Regions from separate parts of the Homo sapiens genome. Here all the other regions are linked to region 3. Evidence: promoter capture Hi-C in human tissues and cell types (Jung and others, 2019). All regions are on one chromosome and are shown on one strand. Each heading gives the region's core, a stretch centred on a gene start or on the middle of the fragment in contact. The rest is flanking DNA. Distances are from core to core; before and after follow the strand shown.

What was found. The method cuts DNA at HindIII sites, captures the fragments that hold promoters and counts their contacts. A contact is called where the count stands out against the background at its distance.
Region 1: a fragment that was not itself captured here is called in contact with the fragment with the promoter of CTSB in region 3 in 2 of the 25 tissues and cell types used here (lymphoblastoid cells and thymus).
Region 2: a fragment that was not itself captured here is called in contact with the fragment with the promoter of CTSB in region 3 in 1 of the 25 tissues and cell types used here (aorta).

Annotation. Positions count from the first base shown.
Region 1 is chr8:11,414,115-11,418,735 of GRCh38, forward strand. The region is part of intron 3 of FAM167A-AS1 (FAM167A antisense RNA 1); the gene reads left to right. Among named protein-coding and RNA genes, the nearest start is that of FAM167A-AS1, 48 kb to the left of the region's middle. RefSeq lists enhancers at 2,376-2,877, 2,725-2,954, 2,878-3,377, 3,986-4,055. The HindIII fragment of the contact is 4,838 bases long and covers 1-3,680 here.
Region 2 is chr8:11,451,234-11,455,697 of GRCh38, forward strand. All of the region lies in intron 1 of FAM167A (family with sequence similarity 167 member A), which reads right to left. Among named protein-coding and RNA genes, the nearest start is that of FAM167A, 13 kb to the right of the region's middle. RefSeq lists enhancers at 475-1,050, 983-1,032, 1,051-1,626, 1,627-2,202. The HindIII fragment of the contact is 6,640 bases long and covers 1-4,464 here.
Region 3 is chr8:11,866,837-11,871,518 of GRCh38, forward strand. CTSB (cathepsin B) reads right to left here and starts at 1,251. Exons shown (of 10, transcript NM_001908.5): 1 at 1,165-1,251. RefSeq lists an enhancer at 515-724 and silencers at 815-1,144, 1,285-1,404. The HindIII fragment of the contact is 10,819 bases long and covers 1-4,682 here.

The sequences.
Region 1 (4,621 bases), core at 12-2,511, 450 kb before region 3:
GCACATTGAAAGCAGAAAAGAAGAGGTTTAAAACATTAATAGAAGTTCTCGTCTTTTTGCGTGCATGTGACAAGGTTTCATTCTGTGGCCCAGGCTGAAGTGCAGTGGCGTGATCGTGGCTCACTGCAGCCTCGACCTCCCCAGGTTCAGGTGATCCTCTCATCTCAGCCTCCTGAGTAGCTGGGCATGTGGGTAGCTATTTTTTCTACTTTTTGTAGAGATAGGGTCTCACCATGTTGCCCAGGCTGGTCTAGAACTCCTGGGCTCAAGTGATCCTCCCACCTCGGCCTCCCAAATTGCTGGGATTACAGGCGGGAGCCACTGCACCTGGCCTCTTCTCTTCCTTTCACTCCATGCTGCATCATCTTGGTACTGCCCCGTGTCTACACTGCAAGTCAGAGTCTGCTGGTCAGGGTGTCCTTAGGGCTGCAGGCTGATGGGGTTTTGCAGGTCCACTCTGGATGGGGTGAGGAAGAATGAGAGGTAATCACTAAGATCCCATCTGCAAATAGTGCAGTTCTCCTCTACTTGGGGGCCCAGGCTAAGCTGGTACTTCTCCACACTTTGGATGTCAGGTTTGGCCATCTGACTTGTTTAGACCAAGGAAATGTGAGCAGAAATGATATGAGTCACTTCCAGGTGGGGGCTTTAAAAGCTGGGGGTGGGGTAGAGAGGAGAGGAAGAGGGGTCAAAGAGGAAAAACAAATATCCCCGTTGGGTGTGACTGCCATAACAAGATACCATAGACTGCGTGGCTTAAATAACAGACATTTGTTTTCTCACAGTCCTAGAGGCTGGAGGTCCAAGATCAAAGTACTGGCAGGGTTGGTTCCTTCTCAGGCCTCTCTCCTCAGCTTGTAGGTGGTGTCTTCTCCCTGTGTCTCCATGTGGCCGTCCCTCTGTGAGTGTCTGTGTCTTAATCTCCTCTTCTTATGCAGACGTCAGTCAGATTGGATTATGACCCACCCATATGACCTCATTTTACTCTAGTTACCTCTTACATAGTCCCATTCTTAGATGCTGGAGATCAGGATTTCAACATGTGAATTTTTGGGGGTCATAATTCAGTGCACAATAGCAAGTGAAGCTTTATTCCCGGTGGTGGCAGCAGGCAGAGGTGTGGACAGACCTCTTGAGAATCACCAGCTTTCCATAGCCGTTCCAGCTACAGCGGTGCAAAAAAGGCCCCCTGCTGAGCTGGGTGAAATCCGGGCGACTTTGGGGATGAGCTCTGTGAGTCACCTCTTCTCACAGCCTCTTCCCGGACACTGCCTGTCCCCGCCCTTCTAAGGGTTCTGTGAACCCTTAGTTCCTGAATCAGGTCCTTTCCTTCATGGAAGACTGAGGGGGCTTCCACTTTATTGACCAAACCCAGACTGGTGCAGAGGCGACAGGTTGGAGACGCATTTGTCCTGCTCCAGGCCCAGGTACCCCTCCCAGATGAGGCCGAGAGTGCAGTGGGTGGGGGAGCAGAGGTGAGCTCCCTGAAAGCCCTCCCTCCAGGCCTAGGCCAGGACCACCTGGGTGGGTGAGTCTCCGGGAGCGAGCCAAGGAGTGTGGCTTGTCATCTCTAACTCAGGTTTCCCTTGGGACTCTGGCTGTTCTTTAGCAAATGCCCCTTAGCTTCAGTAGTCTTTGCATGGAGAAGGGAGTAAGAGAATGAGCAGTGCAGGGCTTTCTGTTTAACAAATGGCTCAGGAAATACCCTACTGTCCTGCAAAGCTGCACCAAGCCTCACTTTCCTCGTAACCATCTTGCAGGCGGGAATGTTCCTGGCAGCGAGTGGTGGATGACGGATTCTTACAGCCTGCAAACACCTTCATTTTTTTATGATTAAAAAATAAAAAATAGACAAGGGTGGGGCATGGTGGCTCATTCCTGTAATCCCAGCACTTTGGGAGGCCGAGGCAGGCAGATCACTTGAGGTCAAGAGTTTCAGACCAAGCTGGCCAACATGGTGAAACTCCATCCCTACAAAAATACAAAAATTAGCCAGCTGTGGCAGTGCACACCTGTAGTCCCAGCTACTCAGGAGGCTGACGCAGGAGGATTGCTTGAACCCATGAGGCAGAGGTTGCAGTGAGCTGAGATCCTACCACTGCACTCCAGCCTGGGCAACAGAGCCAGACTCTGTCTCAAAAAAACAAACAAAAAGAGATGAGGTCTCTCTGTGTTACCCAGGCTGGTCTTGAACTGCTGGGCTCAAGCAATCCTTCCATGTCAGCCTCCCAAAGTTCTGGGATTACAGGCATGAGCCACCATGCCTAGCTAAAACACCTTTTTTCCCTTTTAATTTTTAAAAAATTGATGTATAATAATTGTACATATTTATGGGGTATATAGTGATGTTTCTGTGCATTCCGTGTCTAGTGATCAAATCAGGGTAATTAATATCCATCACGTCAAGCATGTATCCTCAAAGAAATGATAAATGTTCCAACGCATCTGAGGTTTCTCTTCCTTAATCAATTTCCTTTGGAGACCGCCTAGCTGTCTCCCTTGCTGTTTGCTTTGAGCCTGTGAACGGGGTACTTAAAAACAGCCCTGTCTGAAACCTTCAATCTGCTGAGCAGCTCCCATCAGATAGGGTCTGGTTACCACAGGCCTGTCTGCTCTGGTCACTGCCAACTTCCTCCTCTTCTGCCTGCCTCCTTCCCCAAGTCGTCTAGGCCACAGACTTCAGGCTTAGACATGGAGAAGGAGCCAGTGGGAAGTGCTTCTGGTCTTGTTGAGAAGTCAAAAGGGTGTGTGTAAACGGAGTTTACACCCTTTCCAAACATAAGAGAGACGAGATCTCTGGGAGGCCAAGGAAGCCACAGTTTGACGTCACCAGCCATGGGTCAGGGCACCTGGCCACGCTCAGCAGGGCACCAGCAGCTAATGTGGCAGCAGGCCGAGTCTCTGAATGAAGAAGCCACACCACATCTGAACTGTCGCTCCCCCTCTCCCCATACTCTGGTCTCCACCTGTTCAGTCTTGATCTCTCCTGGACTCACCCTAGCAACCCCCAGGTCACGTGGAGACCACTGGCCATGCACCTACCTCCAGCTCCGTTGGCTCTCCCGGCCCGTTTCCTCTCGTCGTCCTTCCCTCCTGACTCAGTCTAACACTAACATTGCTCCTTTGCAAAAAACATTCACTTTTGCTGTTTCCGTTCTCTGTCACCTGCTTGGCAAATCCTATCTCCCACTGTCTGCCTGGTCTTTGTCTGTATTGGAACTTCTAAATATTGCTGAAAAAATCAATCACTCCACCAGGCTTGCTGGACACACCCCACATTTATGACCACAGCCTCAAATGGGCAATCCCGCCACCAGACCAGACGGTCCATCTTCGCTTTCCTAATTAACTCACCCGTTCTCAGGTAATTATTTGAAAAATGTCTTTGCAAACCTCCAATATCCCACCTCCTCCGACTCACTTCCCTATTTCACAGACAAATAGGAGCGACCTCACGGGCTCCCTTCCTCTGTGCCACTGATTTGTTATTGAAAAGGGGTCCTGATCCAGACCCCAAGGGAGGGTTCTTGGATCTCGCACAAGAGAGAATTTGGGGTGAATCCACAGAGTAAAGTGAAAGCACATTTATGAAGAAAGAAAGAAAAGAATGGCTGCTCCACAGGCGGGGGCTGCTTGAATGGGCATATTTCTAGTTATTTCTTGATCATATGCTAAACAAGGGATAGATTATTCATGGATTTTCTGGGAAAGGGGTGGGGAAATCCTGGAATGGAACAGAGGGTTCCTGCCCTTTTTAGACCATGTAGGGTAACTTCTGGCCTTTGCCTGTGGCATTTGTAAACTGTCACGGGGCTGGTAGGCGTGTCTTTTAGCAGCTAATGCATTATAATTAGCAAATAATAAGCAGTGAGGTCGACCAGAGGTCACTTTCATTGCCTTCTTGGTTTTGGTGGGTCTTGGCTGGCTTCTTCACCACATCCTGTTTTATCTACGGGGGCTTTGTGACCTGTGTCTTGTGCCGACCTCCGATCTCATCCTGTGGCTAAGAATGCCTAACTTCCTGGGGATGCAGCCCAGCAGGTCTCAGCCTCATTTCCCCCAGCCTGTTTGAGCCGCAGTCGCCCTGGTTCCAATGTCCCTGACAGTAACGGGCACCCCTTTAGCTGCACCCTGCCTTCTTGCCTCAAGGAGGAAGTGCCTGGTCCTGTTCTCTGAGCCGGGTCTCCACTCGCACTCTGCCGGGGGTTCTCTCCCCTCCTCCAGAGCTGCAAGTGCTGTGGCTGCCCTCTTTCCTGTGCACATCGTCTCTCTTTCAGCAGGCACTGACCTATCTCACATGACAACACCTTCATTATATTATACGACGTTATGAGAAAACCACAAGCCACTTTCTGGACCTTATCTATGTCCTTGTCCAGCTCCTTGTCTCTGCTCCCTTTATGGCACATGGATGCAGCAAGGTGGCCTTTATCTCCTGCCTCCTCCTCAACCCTGGCCTTACCACTGAGCTGAGATGGCCATCTCCCCCATCACTGCCATCACGGTGGAGGAGGGGCTCCCTCTTGCTGAAGCCAGCATCCACCTCTCTGTCCTCTTCTTCCTTGATGTCTTAGCAGCGCTGGTGTAGACGACTCTCTCCTTCAAACAGTTTCTTCCTGAA
Region 2 (4,464 bases), core at 562-3,061, 420 kb before region 3:
GTCTAACTGGAGAGCAAAGCCAAGCCGACAGTGTGGCAGCTTGGCCATCACAGCCCAGTGGCAAGGAGCTGGGGGCCCGCAGCTGGGCCCCGTGGGAAGCCACCCGCCCTGCCCAGGTTACACAGCGTATACCTTCCGCCTTTTTTGCTTCAGCTACTTGGAGATGGGGTTTCTGACATTCGTAAGTGACTGACACAGCACGCACTGGAGAAGGAATATTAAAGAGCACAGTGGATGCTTGCTGCTATTTGTCTTTCGTTGGACTGTGTGTCTGTTTGCCATATCCAACACCCTCTCCTTTCCTGTGTGGAGGGAGCTCCCCATTTTGTGCAGAACAGCAGGCAGGCCGTGCAGCCTTCTCTGCAACCAGAGGACCACGTGCTCCTCTTCCCAGCTCATGCCCTGGTGACCAGGTGTGAGCATGTGACCTGAGCTTGGCCAGTCAGCTGTTCAGGCCCCGACTCTGAATTGGGTGCGTGTGAGTCTCAGAGGAAGGGATGGTTAGGGCGCATCTGTGAACCAACCCTGGAGGCAAATGTGAAGTGCAGGGGCGGTGGCATCCTCTTAGCCAAATTGTCTCTGCTGAAGGACTGGCCCGGGATCTCCTGCCTCTGCCTTCTGGATCTGCCCTGGTTCTGCCTGTTTTCTGGTCTTTACCTCCTGCCAATTCTGTGGGCACCTGACAGCCTTACAATAATGTCATTTTCTCTTGCTCACAACCAAGAGCTGTAACTGAAATGAGACAGGAAGCACAACTCATTTGGTGAGGAAAATATACAACTGAGAGCAAACCAGTGTCATAAAATGTCATGACAATCCAAAAGGCTCCCTCTGCCACCATTCCACGTGTCCCTTGGTGGTGGGGGGCAGGGAGGGGGTGCTGTGCGACCTCCCATTGAGAACCACAGGGTGGATGGTCACTGTCCTCCTAATGAAATCTTACTGAGTCTGTCCACATGCAGAGTTGACTTGTCTCCTAACTCACAATCCATGACAGGCTATGCTTGATGAGGACAGAATGACAATTTCGCATATGAGTGAATTTATCCTTGCTCTGCTCCTCTGGCAGAAACGCCGCCCATGGTTCCCTGTGCAAAATGGATACATGCTGGGTCATGAGACCAGCCCAGCTGGGCTACAGCCGGACATCAGGGCAAACAACTGAAGGGCCGAGAAGTCTGGTGAGCTGTGCTCTTTTGGGAGTGGTGCCTCTGGGCTGTTTCAGGACTGTGACAGTCCCCAGAGGGAGAGGGGGTGAGCAGAGGCAGAAAGAGCATGAAGGAGTGAGCCTGTGGCTGCATCTGTCTCCCACAGGCTGCTGCTTCCTCCACCTGCAGCTCCCTCCCTTCTCATCATCAGCCTCCACCCCACGAGGTTGCCTCGGGTCTGTTTCTGCAGCCTGAAAGAGGTGCACTAACCCTATTCAAATCCCCATTTTACAGGTGAGGAAACAGATAACTTTTCTCATGAAACCGAAGCCCAAGCTCCCATAAACAGACGTGACGGCCTGAGATCCTGGCCCAGAAAAAAGGGTGCTTTATTTAGCATCTATGAATGCTGGGGGAATGTGCAGGCACGTTCCCCAGTGCCAGCACGGGCTGAGCAATGGTAGGTCTCCTCAGAGTTCACCGAGCATCAGCACACACATTCGGGCCTCACGTCCTTCTGACTTCACGCAGGAGAAAGTGGAGGCCACAGAGGCTGGCTGGTTCCCAGAACACAGATCTGCTGCAGGAAAGCTGGGGTGATCTCCCCCCTCTGTCCCCTTCATCACGGCTGCCCCCATTCCCCTGCACTCCTGACCCCTCAGCCTGAGCCTGGGGACTTGGACGCTGTCCCCTTCTCCACAAAGCTCCCTCCTCCAGGCTTCCTCTCCTCTGTCCTGCTGCCGGTTATCCTTCTAAAATGCAACTCGAATCCTGCCCCTTAATAACTTTCCTACTAAGTAACTTTGTTATTGAGATGAGGTCTCACTGTTGCCCAGGCTGGAGCGCAAGTGGTACAATCACAGCTCACTGCAGCCTCAGACTCCTGGGGTCAACTGATCTCCTGCCTCAGCCTCCCAAGTAGCTGGAACTGCAGGCATGTGCCACCATGCCTGACTCTAAATAACATTTTAGTAACACTGTCAAGCTGCTAATATGTATGAAGCACTCAATATGTGCCAGGCACTATAAGGAGATAGCACCTCACTTATTTGCATGAGAATCTTGTGAAGTATGCACTATGATTGTCCCATTACACAGATGAAGAGACCGAGGCACAGAGATGATAAGGCACGGGCCCAGTGGCACTCAGACTGTACCTGGCAGGGCAAGGACTGAAACCAGCAGATGCACAGCTCCCTGTGGAGGTGGAGGGGAGGGCTGCAGCAGGAGCCAGGAAGGCTGAGCTGGGGACCAGGACCGGGTCAGAGGCTCTGTGACCCTCCCCATGGTCTACTCAAACAGAACAAAGCAAGAGTGTCCTCTGGGAATCAAGTTGCCCCCCGAGATAGCCAGCTCTGTCTTGGTTCTGTGCTGTCCTATGACGCTGGCCACTCCACAGCAGAACCACCTTCACTGAGTTTATGGAGCACGTCTACACCGCAGCACATAAACACTGCAGGGAAGGCTGGGTCTTCTTACCCCATCATGCAGCAAACCGAGGTGGCAGCCTATGTGACCAGCCTAAGGCCCGGGGCTCCTCAGTGACAGCCCAGAGCCTACTGCCCACACTCCTTGGGGTTGCTGTGCCATCTTCTAGAACCTACTATCTGGCAGGACTAGCTATCACGCGTGTGGAAAGCTTTCCATCTGCAGGTATAACTGGGTTCTCCCAGAAATTTCTGGAAGGAAGAATTAGCTACACTGTGACTTAGGGCCCTGCAGGATCCTCAGCAGGGCAGGTCTTGGGGGATGGGATGTCTTTAGTGCCGGCCTCACCTTCTTGACCCCGACACCGTCTGGGTTGCCCATGGCTCTGCTGCCAAAGCCAGGGTGGGCTTGGCTGGAGAGCGGAGGCCCACGTGTGTGTGCAAAGCGCTCTGTTTCCTCTGCTGAGCCTGCTGTGTGTGTCACCAAGCCTAAAACTCCACATCAGAGAGACTCGTGGCTTCACTCAAGGACAGCATCTCCTGATTCCTCCGTCAACACCTGTCTGGTGCAGGGGTGGCAGGAAGAGGCATCTCCACTCTACCTTGCCCTGATGTTGCGGTTTCAGCCAGGCCAGGCCCATCAGTAGAGGGCACAGCCCTGATTTCAACCGGAGACAAAGGCAGGGGCCATGAGCTGGGACCTGCGGTGGCTTCAGAGGCCAGAGAACAGTGAGGCCAGCCCCACAGCCAAGGGAGTGCAGAGGCTCTAAGGGGTTTCATACACAGAAAATTCAGGGTGGTGCAGGGCAAAGCTCATGCCTGCATCTTTTCCTTTTGTTTTCTGAAAAGGCAAATCCCTTTGTTCTGGGTGAGTAAGAGGTTAGGAGGTCTGGGACATGGCTCCACAGTCGGCCTAGGGAGGCGAGCCTGGGGTGTGCAGGCTTTTCTGCCCGGGTTTAATCAGAAACCCAACACTTATCTCACCCAGAGGACCAGACAGGACTGGGCTGGCCTCTGGCTGGGCTCAGCACTGACCAGGTGGCAGCCGAGAGGACAGGGACACAGCCCTGGGCCCCACAGAGCTGCTGCCGGGAGCCAGGCTGCCCTAGTGGTCCCCTCCTCCTCCGGGGTTGCCATGGCAACTGAGCAGGAGGGACCCTGCTGTCTAGCCCTGGCGCTCATCTCTTGCCTTTCCAGCCTCATCTGCATTCCAAGCCTTGGTCAGAGCCGGTGTCAGGAGCCCTGACATGGAGATGACATCCTGCCGAGACCTGACCCCGGCCCCAGTGCTGCACGTGGCAGGGATGGGTTGCTGGGATATGTGTGTGTGCGTGTGTGTGTGTGTGACTGTGGTGGGGTTGTTGCCTTGCTGAGTGTGGGTGGTGGTTGCCTTGCTCTGTGTGTGTGTGTGACTGTGGTGGGGTTGTTGCCTTGCTGTGTGAGTGTGGGTGGTGGTTGCCTTGCTCTGTGTGTGTCTGGGGGGGGTGGTTACCCTCCTGGGTGTGTGTGAGTGTGGGGGGTGGTTGCCTTGCTGTGTATGAGTGTGAGGAGTGTGAGTGTGGGATGGTTGCCTTGCGTGAGTGTGATTGTGAGTGTGGGGGGTGGCTGCTCTGCTGGGTGTGTGTGAGTGTGGGGGGTGGCTGCTCTGCTGGGTATGTGTGAGTGTGGGGAGTGGTTGCCCTGATGGGTGTGTGAGTGTGAGTGTGTGGGGTGGTTGCCCTGCTGGGTGTGTGAGTCTGAGTGTGGGGGGTGGTTGCCTTGCTTTGAGTTTGAGTGTGGGATGGTTGCCTCACCTGAGTGTGAGTGTGCAGGGTGGTTGCTCTGCTGGGTGTGAGTGTTGGGGGTGGTTGCCTTGCTGTGTGTGAATGTGAGTGTGGGTGTGGGGGATG
Region 3 (4,682 bases), core at 1-2,500:
GAGACAGAGCCAGCCAACGCCCTCTTAGGCCTCTTCGCCTTACGTTCCTGAACGTTTGGATTCAAAGAGAGTGCATCTCAGCTATCCTCTCCTCCGGCAGCAGGCAGTGGGAATGTTTTTCCAGGCTACAAAAAGGTGCCAGGTCTGCATTTGAACCCCACAGCGTCACTTCTCCAGTGGGTTTGGGGGGTCTCTCGTCCGTTAGGAGGAGGAGTGTGGGGCCTGCGCTAGGGTCCTTTTCTTTGCCAGCCTGCTGGCTTTCTCAGCGCCTGGGAAGGGGGTGACAGAGGCCCACCAGGAAGCCAAGTGCAATTCACTTCCACCTGGGTCGCCCACCCCAGCCTGCCTGCAACGCCCCACACCCAGCACCCACTGCTCCCCAGAGGCCAACTCCCCCCGGCCTCCAGGGCTACTAACCGAGGGGGAGGTGGCGCCCCAGGGACTCTGCCCGGCCTCCCTTTACTGGAGTCCAGGAGCAGGGTGCGCCCCCGGCCTTCTCCCCACCGGCATCCAATCGCCCATTCGCCTCTTGGTTTCGCTGTCTGGTTTCTCTTCCTGTTTATGGATTTAACACCGTGCGGCTTCCTCCCCAGCCCACCCAGTGCCAGATTCCTGTTCTTCAACAGGACCTGTCTTCTGGGGTCCCAGGAATTGCGTGGGATCTTGCGCAGAAAGTTGGCCAGGCAAATCCTTCGCAATGAGGGGGAAATAAACCGAAAATAGATGCCGGCAGATGCGATTATGTCGGCAGTTTGGCCCGGAGACACCGAGGCCCAGGCGCTGGGAGCGCGGTCCCAGGCAGCAGTCTCCGGACCCGGCCGAGCTCTTCCTCGCAGGCGCCTCCCTCGGCGGTCCTGGCCGCGTCCCCGCTCCGAGGGCCGGGGTCCGGCGCACAGCCCGGGGAGGGGAGCGGAGGGCAGAGGGCTGGCGGGCGGAGCTGTTTTCTGCTTTTCTCGCCGACGCTTCGGAGCGCGCGGACTCCCACCCCAGCCCGCCCGTCAGGGACAGTCCCGAGGGTCCCGGCTCCCCGCCGGCCCCCAGGGACGCCGCGGGGCCGCGCCTGGGCCCGACTGAGGGCGCAGAGGAACCCGTCTCGGCGGCCGGGTAGCACCGTCCCCGCCAAGGTCACTTACGCTGCGGTGGCCCCGGGTCCCCAGCACTCACCCAGCGCTGCAGCCGAGAGCCTGCAGCCCAGCCTGCGCGCAGCGGAGCGGTTGGCGTTGCCGGAGCGGTTGCCGGAGCCCTGCAGCCGCCGTAGCCTGGGCCAGCCCCGGCCCTAAGTACCCTCCCGGCCCCGCCCCACGTGACCACCGCGCAGCCCCGCCCGGGCCCTCCCGCCGCCCGCGCACGGTGCTTCCCAGCCCCCACCCCCTCCCGCCACCTTCCGCCGCCCGCGCTCCCCGCTTCCCGGCCCCGCACACCCCCCGCCCCCTTCCGCTCGGGGTCCGGGGCCACCGCCGGGGGCGGGCGGGGGCCTGAGCGCGCGGGCTGGGGAAGAAGGGCTTGGAGCCCTGCGGGCCCTGGGTGGCGAAACGCTGCGAATTGGGGCCAGGGGATGGGGAAAAAGCCCCTAAAGGTGGTCCCAAGGCCCCCACCCCGCCTAGAAAAGTCCCCCCGCCTCGCGGGACCGCCTCCGCCAGAACCCGCGCCTGGGATCCCTGCCTGCCGAGTTGGCGGGGGTGGGGTGGTGGAGAGGGCGCCGTCGCTTATTTCATTCATTCAGAAGCCGCTGCAGAGGCTGGGGGTGGCGAGGCTGTGGACCCCACAGAACAGCCTTTAGAAGGGCCACTTTGTTGTTCAGAGAACGTACCCACAAAACACTACAGCTACGTACAAATAGAAAAGAGTGGCTGTCACTGCGAAGGAACCTAGGAGCTGCGTCAGGATTTCTAAGAGGAGAAGGACCTTGGGGGCGGAAATCGGTTTGGCACAGGAGTACCCGGAGACCTGCTCCGAGAGGACGGACAAAGTGCACATTTACTTGGGGTTTATTACCGGGAGGCCCTGGAAGGGAGATGCAGGGGTTGGCTCAAGACTCACCCTCCTCCAGACACTCCCCAAACAGCTTTAATCCTTAAGACAAACCTGCAAAGCAGGCATGACCCCAGTTGTATTCAAGAGGCTCAGAGGGGCTGGGTTCGGTGGCTCACGCCTGTAATCCCAGCATTTTGGGAGGCCGAGGCCGGTGAGTCACCTGAGGTCGGGAGTTCGAGACCATCCTGACCAACATGGAGAAACCCCGTCTCTACTAAAAATACAAAACTAGCCGGGCGTGGTGGCGCGTGTCAGTAATCCCAGCTACTCGGGAGACTGAAGCAGGAGAATCGCTTGAACCCGGGAGGCGGAGGTTGCGGTGACCAGAGATCGCACTATTGCACTCCAGCCTAGGCAACAAGAGTGAAACTCTGTATTAAAAAAAAAAAAAAGGCTCAGAAGAATCGTATTTTATCCAGGCTGTGGCGACAGTAAGAAGGCAGTAGCCGGGTGCAGTGGCTCACGCCTGTAATCCCAGCACTTTGGGAGGCCGAGGCGGGCGGATCACGAGGTCAGGAGATCAAGATTATCCTGGCTAACACGGTGAAACCCCGTCTCTAGTAAAAATACAAAAAATTAGCCGGGCGTGGTGGCGGGCGCCTGTAGTCCCAGCTACTCGGGAGGCGGAGGCAGGAGAATGGCGTGAACCCGTGAGCTGAGATCGTGCCACTGCACTCCAGCCTGGGCGAAAAGCGAGACTCCGCCTCAAAAAAAAAAAAAAAAAAAAAAAAAAAGGCAGTAGGACTGCATGGGACCTGGTTCCCTGCAGCCTGGTCGTCAGCTGTCACACAGCCCTGAGCCTGTCTTCAGAGACATGCCTGTACTCCCGCCTGGTTAGTAACAAACTAAGGATAGGAGTGGAAGGAAAAAATAATCTCTGGAGCCCAAACATGGTCACTAAGCCCCCAGCAGAGTGGGATACCCGAGGAACTGAGGACCAGGAGGCTGGAGGTCAAGGTGGTCCCAACTGCCTGCTCACCCTAGTCATATCCTGACAGCCATGGACTCTGGACTCCAAATCATTTCAGACCTCTATAAGGAGCTCATAAGATGGCCAAAATGGGGAGGACACAGCCAGAACCAGGATAACTCTCCCCTCTCTCATCCTTAGAGTGTGACAGAAGGTATGCAGAGCAGAGTGCTTGACATGCGTTATGGCTATTTGATGGAATTTTCCATCAGTGTCATTATAGAAATCACTTTTGAGAGGTAAAAATCACTTTTGAAACAAAAGAAACAGGCTAGGCGCGGTGGTTCACCACTGTAATCCTAGCACTTTGGGAGGCTGAGGCAGGCAGATCACCTGAGGTCGGGAGTTCCAGACCAGCCTGGCCCAAATGGTGAAACCCAGTCTCTACTAAAAATACAAAAATTAGCTGGGCGTGGTGGTTCACGCGCCTGTAATCCCAGCTACTTGAGAGGCTGAGGCAGGAGAATCGCTTGAGCCCGGGAGGTGGAGGTTGCGGTGAGCCAAAATCACGCCATTGCACTCCAACCCGGGCAAGATTCCATCTCAAAAGAAAAGAAAAGAAAAAAAGAAATAGGCCAGGCGCAGTGGCTCACGCCTGTAATCCCAGCACTTTGGGAGGCCAAGGCAGGCGGATCACGACGTTGGAAGTTCAAGACCAGCCTGGCCAACATGGTGAAACCCCGTCTCTACTAAAAATACAAAAATTAGCTGGGTGTGGCATTGCGGGCCTGTAATCCCAGCTACTCGAGCGCTGAGGCAGGAGGATCCCTTGAACCAGGGAGTCAGAGGTTGTAGTGAGCCGAGATCACGCCATTGCACTCCAACATGGGCAAGACTCCTCAAAAGACAAGAAAAGAAATATATTACTACCAGAGTAGAATTCGTCCCTTCCTGGAACATCCAGGAAAGCTTCATGGAGAAAGGAACATACAGCATATTTACTTGTATATGTTCCTTCCTGCCCTCACTGGATCTTAAGCCCCACCCAGGCAAGCATTTTTACCTGCGGTGTTCCCCTGCTTCATCCCAGCTCATTGCAGGGTGTCTGGCCCATAGCAGAGGATAGAGAAATGTGAGTTGAGTGGATGCATAATGAATGAAGTAGGCCTTGAAGTTGAGGAGAATTTTGGCTTAACCTGCTAGATTTGGGGGTCAGGGTTCAGGGCCTGGGGAACAGCTCTCAGAACTTACAGAGAGGCCTTGACTCACGTGTGTAAAAGCTGTTTGCTTGTTGAACATCCGTAAAAGAGGCCTAAGTTAACACCTGAAAGAGGTGAAAACATACGTCCTCACAAAAATCCGCCGGGCACAGTGGGCTCACGCCTGTAATCCCAGCACTTTGGGAGGCAGAGGTGGGTGGATTACTTAAGCCTAGGAGTTCAAGACCAGCCTGGGGAACATAGTGAGACCCCAACTCTAAAACAAAAGTTAATAACGTATGTATAAACTTACACCAGATGTTTATAGCAGCATTATTTACAGTAACCAAAAGGTGAAAACAACTCAAATGTCCATCCATTAAAAACCATTGCACGAATAAACAAACTGTCATAAATCCACCAAATGGAGTTTTATTCAGTCGTAAAAAGGAATGAAGTAGTCACACATGCTACAACATCGATAAACCTTGAAAACGTTTACTAAGTAAAATCAGCCAGGTCCAAAGGACTCAGTATTG